Linked DNA regions of Homo sapiens: region 1 is linked to region 2. The links are contacts of gene promoters, found by promoter capture Hi-C in blood cells and fetal thymus (Javierre and others, 2016). All regions are on one chromosome and are shown on one strand. Each heading gives the region's core, a stretch centred on a gene start or on the middle of the fragment in contact. The rest is flanking DNA. Distances are from core to core; before and after follow the strand shown.

Evidence for each region. Contacts are between HindIII fragments. The CHiCAGO score rates a contact against its expected background, and 5 or more counts as called.
Region 1: a contact is called between a fragment that was not itself captured here and the fragment with the promoter of GRM1 in region 2, in 1 of 17 cell types (endothelial precursors). The highest score is 7.2, in endothelial precursors.

What each region holds. Positions count from the first base shown.
Region 1 is chr6:146,617,954-146,622,596 of GRCh38, reverse strand. All of the region lies in intron 1 of ADGB (androglobin), which reads right to left. Among named protein-coding and RNA genes, the nearest start is that of ADGB, 21 kb to the right of the region's middle. The HindIII fragment of the contact is 2,548 bases long and covers 2,068-4,615 here.
Region 2 is chr6:146,026,341-146,031,220 of GRCh38, reverse strand. It overlaps GRM1 (glutamate metabotropic receptor 1), which reads right to left and starts at 2,159. Exons shown (of 8, transcript NM_001278064.2): 1 at 1,004-2,159. The coding sequence starts at 1,703. RefSeq lists enhancers at 1,340-1,840, 1,841-2,341. The HindIII fragment of the contact is 3,742 bases long and covers 567-4,308 here.

The DNA.
Region 1 (4,643 bases), core at 2,092-4,591, 590 kb before region 2:
GGCAAGCTATTTGATCAAATACTCTAACATAAGAGTACATGTGAGTTGTGTGGCATGTAGAGTATCTAAAATGGCCCCTCAAATACGATCTGGTCTAATCATCAAAGCTATGAATATGGCATTACATTGTTGGCTATGTGATGATATATGGGATAGTTGACCTTAAAATAACAAAGATTGTCTGTGTGGATCTGATCTTGTCATAAAAACGTAAATGAGCTTGAAAGTGGATTCTTTCCAGAATCTCCAGGTAAGAACCCAGCCCAGCTGATACACTGATATACAGCTTTGTAAAGCCCTAAAAAGAGAAACTAGCTGAGCCCACCAGAACGTCTTTGCTACAGAATTGTGAGAAAATAATGGCTCGTGTTTCATGTAACTAAGTTCCTGGTAATGTTTTACAGCCATAGAAAACTAATACTAATGGCAAATAAACACATGAATAGGTGATCAACATCAGTAGTCATTAGGGAAATTCAAAATAAACCAAAATTAGCTACTGTTGTATACCTATTACCAAGGCTAAAATTAAAAAGATAAACCATGTCAAGTGTTGAAAAGGATGTGGAGCAACTGGAACTTTCATATAGTGCTGGTGGCCATGTAAAATATAGAATTTTGCAAAATGGTCCAATAGTTTCTTAAAAGCTTAAACATATAATACCATATGATATAGCCATTCTACTCCTAGATAATTCAAGAAAACTGAAAGTGCATGTACATACATGAATATGAATAGCAGCTTTGTTTGTAATAGCTAAAAACTAGAAATAGCCCAAAATGCACAACAGTAGGTAAATGAAAAAAAATCATGGAATATCCATTCAATGGACAGTGAATATTAAAATAATTATGAGTGACAGCAAGATGACAGAATAGAAGATCCTAAGCATCATCACTTCCCCCACAGAAATTCAACTTGAAACTATTAAAAGACAAGAATATCTCCCTAAATTCACCAGAGCACAGAGGGAAAGTAGAGAAACCCATTAGGGCATCAGAGAAGTTGTGACTAGAATAGTCATTTTAGACTGTGCCAGCCCCTCTCCCAAGCTGGCATAACCACTCAAGAGGATTTCTCTAGACCTGTGGTTTCCATGGTGATTGGAGGAAATGAGAGGTGGACGGTCAATCTCCTCACCTTTTGGAATCTTCATGGGAAGCCCACCCTGACTCCTTTCCAGGGGAGCAATTGGGTGTACCAGGAAAGCTGAACTACCTGTGATGAACTGGGCACTAATCACAGTAACTGATGCATGGATTTTGGCAGCTACTTTGTGCTCCAGTCAGTGGGGGTGCCACATTAAAGAGACTGGCCAGTCTCTTTTATGTGCCACAGATGGCACAATCCATGGGAATGCCTAAATCCCTAGCTGGATTTTCCTGGCCTGGAAAAAAACTAAAAGATCAGAATTAATACCTAGTGCCAACTTAAGTCTTCCCAAGACCAGAAAACAATGGCAGGGATGCAATATAGTTATGGGTCTAAGTTTAAGTTTTGGTGCTCACTGTAAGTTTTTTCTACACGAGGAAACAGTAACAGGGCAACATGTTAGTTATAGTGCAGTGTTTTAGTCCTGGTGCTCAACATAAGTTCTTCCCAGGATGGAAAGCAACAGTAGAGCAGTGTTTAAGAGTCAATACTAAGTAGTAAAAGTCTAAAACCACCAAAGAATGTCAGCAAAAACTGGAAGTGGCTGTCTCATCAAATGCTCAGGAATCAACATAAGAGTTGCGAAAACTCAGGAAATATGACATCACCAAAAGAAACCAACAAATCTCCAGTAATTGACCCAGAAGATTTGAAGATCTATGAGATCTGGCAGAGTATTTAGAATAATTCTCTTAAAGAGGTTTAGAGAATCACAGAAATACCTGACAGAAAACTAAATAAAATTTGGAAAACAATCTAAAAACAAAATGAGAAATACGACAAAGAAATAGAAACAATTTTTCAAAAACCAAATAGAAGTCTTAGCAATACAGAATAAAATAACTGACCTGAAAAAAATCATTAGAAAGCTTCAACAACAGATATTCTCAAACAGAAGAAAGAATTAGCAAGCTTGAAGATGGAACATATAAAATTATCCAACCAGTGGAGCAAAAAGAAAAAAAAAGAATAAAAGTGAGTGAAGAAAACCTACAAGAATTATGGGACAAGAGAATCAAGTGAATTAATATCTGTGCAATAGGAATTTCTGAAGGAAACAAGAAAGAAAAATGCCTAGAAAGCATATCTAAAGAAATAATGGCTGAAAATTTCCCAAACCTGGAGAAAGATTACAACCTTCAGGTAAAGAGAGGACGCTCAGACATAACCAATCAAATTCAACCCGAAGAGGGATTCCCCAAGGCACATCATAATTAAGTTACCAAAAATTAAAGACAAAGAATCATCAAAGCAGCAAGAGAAAATAAAAATATCACATTCAATGGAGTCCCAATATAACTTTCAGGGGGCTTCTCAGCATAAATCCCGCAAGTCAGGAGAGACTGGAATGTGATATTCAAAGTGCTGAAGAAAAAATACTGCCAAACAGTAAGATTATACCCAGCAAAGCAATCTTTCAAACTCAAAGGAGAGATAAAGACTTTCCCAGACAAACAAAGGCTGAGGGAATTCACCAACACCAGACTTGTCTTACACGAAATACCAAAAGAGAGTTTTTCAATACAGAAGAAACTGGATGCTAACATATAACAAAAACATCTGCAGTTATTAAACTGACTGGTAAAATAAGAAAAAAGAAATCCAGAATATTCTAAAACTGTAACTGGGCTAAGTAAACCATTTATACTTTTAATAGGAAGTCTAAAAGACAAAAGTATTAAAAATAATTACAACAGTTAATTAGTAAATAGTAAATAGAAAAAGACATAAATTGAAATACCAAAAAGTCACAATGTTGGGATGGGGATGATGTTGAAGTTGAGAATTTTTGTTGTTGCTTTCACTGTGATCAAGATTAAGTCATTAGCAATTTAAAATAACGTGTTATAACTGTAAGATATTTTCTGTATGCCTCATGGTAACCATAAAGCAAAAACCTATAATAGATACACTAAAAATAAATAGCAGAGAATCAAAACATACTGCTAGTGAAACTTATTTAGCTATAAAGAAATACAGTAAGAGGGTGGGAAAAGGAAGAAAGGATCTATTTTAAAATCCCAAAAACAAGTATCAAAATGGCAGTAATAAACCGTTATCTATCAATAATAACCTTGAATGTAAATTGATTAAATTATCCTATTAAAAAATAGAGTGGCTGAATGTATTTTTAAAAAATGATCCAAATATTCTGTCTATGACAAACTCACTTTGCCCATAAGGACACATACATACTGAAAGTGTAGAGATGGAAAAACATATTCCCACAAATAAAAACCAAAAAAGAGCAGAAATAGCTATACTTATTCAGAAAAAACAAACTTTAAGTCAAGAATTGTAATATATCTATATCTATCTATCTATATATATATGGTTATTACATAATGATAAAGGGGTAAATACAGCAAGAGGATGTAGCAATTGTAAAAATATATGCACCTAATACTGGAGAACTCAGATATGTAAAGCAAATATTAATAGACATAGAGGGAGAAATGGACAGCAATACAAGAGTAATAGAGGATTTCAATCCAATAGAGGATTTCAGCATTGGACAGATGATCTAGACAGAAAATCAACAAAGAAACATTGGAGTTACACTGCACTCCAGATGAAAGAGCCCTAACAGACATTTACATAACATTTCATCCCTCTGCTGCAGAAAACACATTTTCTCAACAGCACATGAAACATTCTCCAGGACAGACCATATGTTAGGTCACAAAAGAAGTTTTATCAAATTTTAAAAAATCAAAATCATATCAAGTATCTTTTCTGACTATAATGGAATAAAACAAAATGAAAGCAAAAGGAATGCTGGAAACTGTAAAAATTCATGGTGATTAAACAACATGCACCTGATCAACAAATGTGTAACTGAAGAAATTAAAAAGGAAATTTAAAAATTTATTGAGACAAATAAACATGGAAACACAAGAACTGCAGGATATGACAAAAGCAGTTCTAAGGTGAAAGTTTACATGAATAAACACTTTCATCAAAAAAGTAGAAAGACCAAATAACTTAATAATGCACTTCAAGGAACTAGAAAGGCAAGAACAAACCAAACACAACATTAGTGGAAGAAAAGAAATAATAAATATCAGAGCTATTTCTGACGAATAAAAATATACAAAAAATCCACAAAATAAAAAGTTCATTTTTTGAAAAGATAAAACAAATAGAGAAACTTTTAGCTTGACTAAGAAAAAAAAAACCGTAAGACTCAAATAAATAAAATCTGAGACAACAAAGGAAACATTATAACTACAAAAATACAAAGGATAATTAGAGACTGTTATGAACAACTGTAAACCAACAAATTGGTGTTATGATGGAGACCTTTATGATAATCCAATTTCATTTAATAAACAGTAAATATATTTTTCTCTTCTTTATGATTTTCTAAATAACATTTTCCTATCTCTAGGTTACTTTATTATAAGAATGCAGTATATATAACATATACATATGACACACAAAATATGTGTTAATCAAGCTTTTATGTTATTGGTAAGGCTTTCACTCA
Region 2 (4,880 bases), core at 910-3,409:
TTAAGAGTAGCTGAGCTCAGAAATCCCCTTTTATTAAAAAATGTATATAACCTAAGGTGAAGAGAGTCTAGAAAATCTTTATATAAAAAATTTTTGAAAATTCACATCCATAAGTCTCTGGAAAAATCAAAGCTTTTAACCTTAGGTTAATCTATTGCATTTTAGAAAGACATTATAAACCTAATATCTGCTATCCATTCATTAGTATTTTATAACTGATCTAACTTTAATTCTAATATGTAAGTTCATTGTGTTAGAAGAAAAAAGACTAGAAACCAAAACTCAAATCCAAGTGGTCACCAGTGTTATTTCTCATAAAACAAGATAATTCTTGGGGGAGTGAGGGAATCTGGATGATTTTAGCCTATAAAGTAAGAAGAAAATACATTATTTAAATTACTTACTTTTTCTTTGTAACTAAGGTACTCCAGAAGTAAAAATATAAGTTTCTGATATACTGAGGGAGATGACTGCATTAATCCTACATTCACAGGAAAGTTTTGGATATGTAAGAAGGGGTACAAGAGGACAAAGAAAATCTTCAACTGTTAAAGAAAGATAAAGCTTTGAAGTCCTATTTGTGGAATAGTAACTTCTTTTTGCCAATCACTCACACTGAATTAACTCATTACACCTGGAAAGTCATAGCCAGTCACTGAAGGGCAATATAACACCTTGGACAAATAAGCCTTCCAAACGCAAACTCAAAATATGAGGGCAAACAAGTATTCAAGTCAAATCTACTGCTGGACACTTTGCATGGAAAGTTTGATACCCTTTCAGCTCCTATTATCCTCAGATATTCTATGGGGTACAATTTTCCTACACTATAATTGTAAGGAAATGAGGATAAAAGGCAATGCCTGGGTGGGCAGTACTGAGAAGGGTAAACTCCGTTCCCCACAGTGCTAGAAATAAACAGGAACAATACTATGATCCCAGGAGCACATCATGCATTGCCCTGACTTTCTCAGTACCCTTCTTTCCCAAATATAATGCCTACCTTCCGTGTGGACTGCAGAGACATAGGTCCAATTGTAACGTTTGACTATGTCAAGCATGGCCCTTGCCTGCAAAGTGTCAGAAGGGACAACCCTCAGGAAGTATTTGTACAAAGTTTTGTCACTCAGGTCGATGCTTGTGGCTGAATAAGCGATCTGGGGGATGTCGAAGAGCTGGAGCAGGTTCTGCACTTGAATGGCTACAGAGCTGGAGCCGGGACCGATCACTCCCGCAATGGGCTTCTTAGTCCTGCCTGGGGGGAGGGACTGGCCGTCAGGCAGACACCGGTTGATCCCATCCTTCTCATCTCGAATGGAAATCAGAGAGTCCCTAATGAACTCAATGCTCTGTTCCAGAGCCACGGAAGAGTGCCAGCAGGAGTCCCGGATCTCACTGCCCAGGGTGATGTTGGGCAGGAGGACCGGGTCCGCGTTGATCTTATCCAACGTGTGGAACATGGCCTCCACCCTCTGGATGCCATACTGCTCCCTGATCTCCCCACACTTCCTCTCGGGCACTTTCTCGGCCGGAGGCTGGTGATGGACTGAGAAGAGGGCTCCAATGATGACATCTCCGTCCATTCTGGCCACCGAGCGCTGAGACGACGCTCCTGCCAGCAACACTTTCCTGCCGGGGCTTCTGGGGAGAAGGGACACCTCCAAAAAGATCGCTGGGAAAAAAAACAAAAGGAGCCCGACCATGGTGGTGAGGACGAGGTCCACAGCCTGCCAGCCGCGTTCCCACGCTGGTCCCGCTGCAGGCTCCCGGCGCGCACCCCCAAGACGCCCAGCGCCGCCTCTCCCGGAGTGGTGCCCCTCGCCAACAATGGTCGTCCAAGGCCTTTGCCTCCTCCACCACCGCCTCCTTCCCCTTCGTCTCCTCCTCTGGGTCCTCCACGACCGCCTCTACAAGCTGGAGGCGTTTGTAAGGGAATTCGAGTCCCCGTTCTTCACCGGTAGTGCATCAAGGTAAATTGATCAAGAGTACAGTGGAAGTCGTGTTGGCAGCGGTGAGCTAGATGCTGCTGACAAAAGACAGAGAAAAATCACAACCTTGTCATCAGAGGACCTGTGTTAAAACTCTGGGGTCTATAATGTTAACAGTTGCCTTGTCCGTTTCATTTCGGCACATCCTGATATCGGCTGCAGGAACAGCTTGGAGCGCAGCTGTGGTCACTGAGGAAGGCGGGGTGTCCTGCCCCCTCTGTCCTCACGGGTCCAGGCGGCGCAGAGCCCCGCCAACTCGCCCGCTCCTCCAACCTTAAGTCGTTTCCTGGTCCCCTAAAACCTATCATGCTTTCTAACTTGGAGGGCGGTGGGGAAGGTGAGCAGAGAGGAGGGGAGGAGCTAGGTCCTTCAACCCAAGAGAACTTTCCGGATTGGAAAAGATCAACTTTTTTTCAGAAGAAAATTTGGAAACTCATTGTAAAGGTGGAAGCGCGACTTTAAAATAAACGTAAACAAAGGATGCACCTTTTACTTTAATTTTGAGGGGTTGAAGAAGCCCTGACATAAAATCAGCTGTAAATATAAATTTGCCAGCTTGAAGAAAATCCACATTAGTTACTAAGGCAACGCCTGGTAAAGTCTCCGTATGGAGGAGTTTGGTATGTTTCCCCCGTAAGAAGTCAGGCTTGCTGTGTATGTTCAAGAAGAAGGGGTGCAGATAAGGTAACTTGTTTCCCGCGGTGGGTGGACGGGTTAGGGGGGGTCCTGCGCTTGCTTTGGGGTTTGCATAGTTGCTAGAAAGGGAACGGAGGGGAGCTTCCGGGTTGCTCTCGCCGCGGCAGCCTGAGCCCTGCCGCCTTCAGGACCCTGGACAGTGCTCGGTCCAGCCAGACATTCCCTGGCAGGGCCTGCAAGGGACGCTTTGACCAGTGAGTTGCAATTCCCTGACCCGCTTTGCTCTTTCAACCTCCCTCCTCTGAGTTCTTTACCCATACACACACACACACACACACACACACACACACACACACACACACACTCCCTTCCACTCGAGTCCCCACCGCCCCTCCGCCCTCATTCTCATCACCTTGCACCGCTTGTGCAGGTATATATCCAAACCCACCCGCTTGGGGACAGAGGCGCCAAATCTCAGCCGCCTGCGGGGCTGAAGTTGGCTCCCTCTCCCGTTCCTCCCCTGCTCCTTTTCTCAAGGTGAGAGTCGACGAAAAGGGGGCTATGGGAGCGGGCGAGGAGAGCACAGGAGGTGAGGCAGAAAAAGGAGAAAGAAAACCCAGGCACCCATTGGTCCCGACTCTTCCTGAGGATACAGGACGAAAAGAAATACATAAGCGAGAATGCGCCTGGGACCCGGAGGAAAATCTGATAGACTGGGACTTTGTCTGCCGTTGTGGGTGGGTTTCACCGGAGGAAGTGTCCGCTCACCTGAGTCTGTTTGGAGGACATGGACTTGAGACATACCTGAGTACCTGAGTCGGGGTAGACAGCGCTATGGTCCCGGGGCCAGAGGACCGTGGCCACGCTCGGCTTGCAGACGCCTCAGCTCTAATCCAGACGGTGCAAGGATGCGATCTGGGCTGTACACTAGTGCCCTCTTTCTTCAGCACTATTTTACCGCAAGGGAAAAAGAGGGGGAGGGAAGAAAAAAAAAAACAGGTCACCCAAGGCTTGTCTATTATCTCATGTATAAAAATCAGTCGTTTGATAGAGGGAGGAGGGGAGACAAACTAGGAGGAAGTGGGGAATATTAATTCCTTTACTATATGAGGGGTCGTATAGAAGCTGCCAGATACGTGAATAGTCAGACAATCTGGCCAAAGAAGTGGAGAACTGCCTAGGCTGCTTTGGGGTAGATATCTTTGTATATATATCTCAGGGACTCAAATATATTTTCTCTTTCTGCGAGTAAAGTCCCTACAGAGGGAAACAGAGTGTAAACACATGTACAGACATCTAAAGAAAGGCTCTATTAGTAGATTGCAAGGGAAATCAGGAAGAGGCTGCATAGGGTGGGAGAAGGGAAAGGACAGGCATGCCCATTATGAATTAAGGTATGCCAAATGAAGAGAGACATATTGTGGCTGCATTTTCAGGTCAAGATGTAACTAAATTGAGAATGAGAGTCAGGTCACATGAAAATACTGGAGTGACAAATACTTATCCAAATTCCTCCCAGGCGGCCATCACCTTCCCTACAGGTCTATGGTGTTGCTTCTGACTGTGTGAAAAGCGGAAGTTAAATCACATTCCTCTGGGAACATGTTGGCTGAGCAGAATGTGGCCCGGCTTTTTCAGGGGAAAAGACAAGTGACAGTGTGTCTTTCTACTCTTGTTCAAAGCTTTCTATTTGTGTCATCTGCAGAGCAGAGAGATCAGCTTACGTTGGTCCCTTATGGGTCAGCTTATAATCGCCTTGCTCAGGTCATTATTATATTATGGAATGGTGCCATGTCAGACTGGAGGGGACAAACCACATGAGGCAGTTTCAAATACTCTTCAGTGTGTTCCATGAAACTTAGGAAGGAAAACAATACCTCTAGTCAATAACAAAAGGTCTTTCTCATTCTGGTTCTGATCTTTTTTTCCCTAAGTGTCAGAGTTTTCTGGATTTTTTTTTTTTAGACAGCCCAAAGAGAATATATTTTTTTCTTTTTCCACAAATAATGCACTAAACAACGTTCACATTTTTTAGACTAAATGATCTCAATTCGGGAAGTAGCCACATGTTTACATAAGGAAAATGGGAAGAGGTAAGTTCTGATCATCACATATGGGACTAAATGGCTCTCTGCTTCTACCCTAGGAATATGTCTGTTCGAAGAACAGCAAGCCACAGGTATGCACAGAGTCCCATAGTATCTGACTTCCTCTAGTAGCCACTTAAGTTCAATTTTAGATAAGCCCATTAGAGTG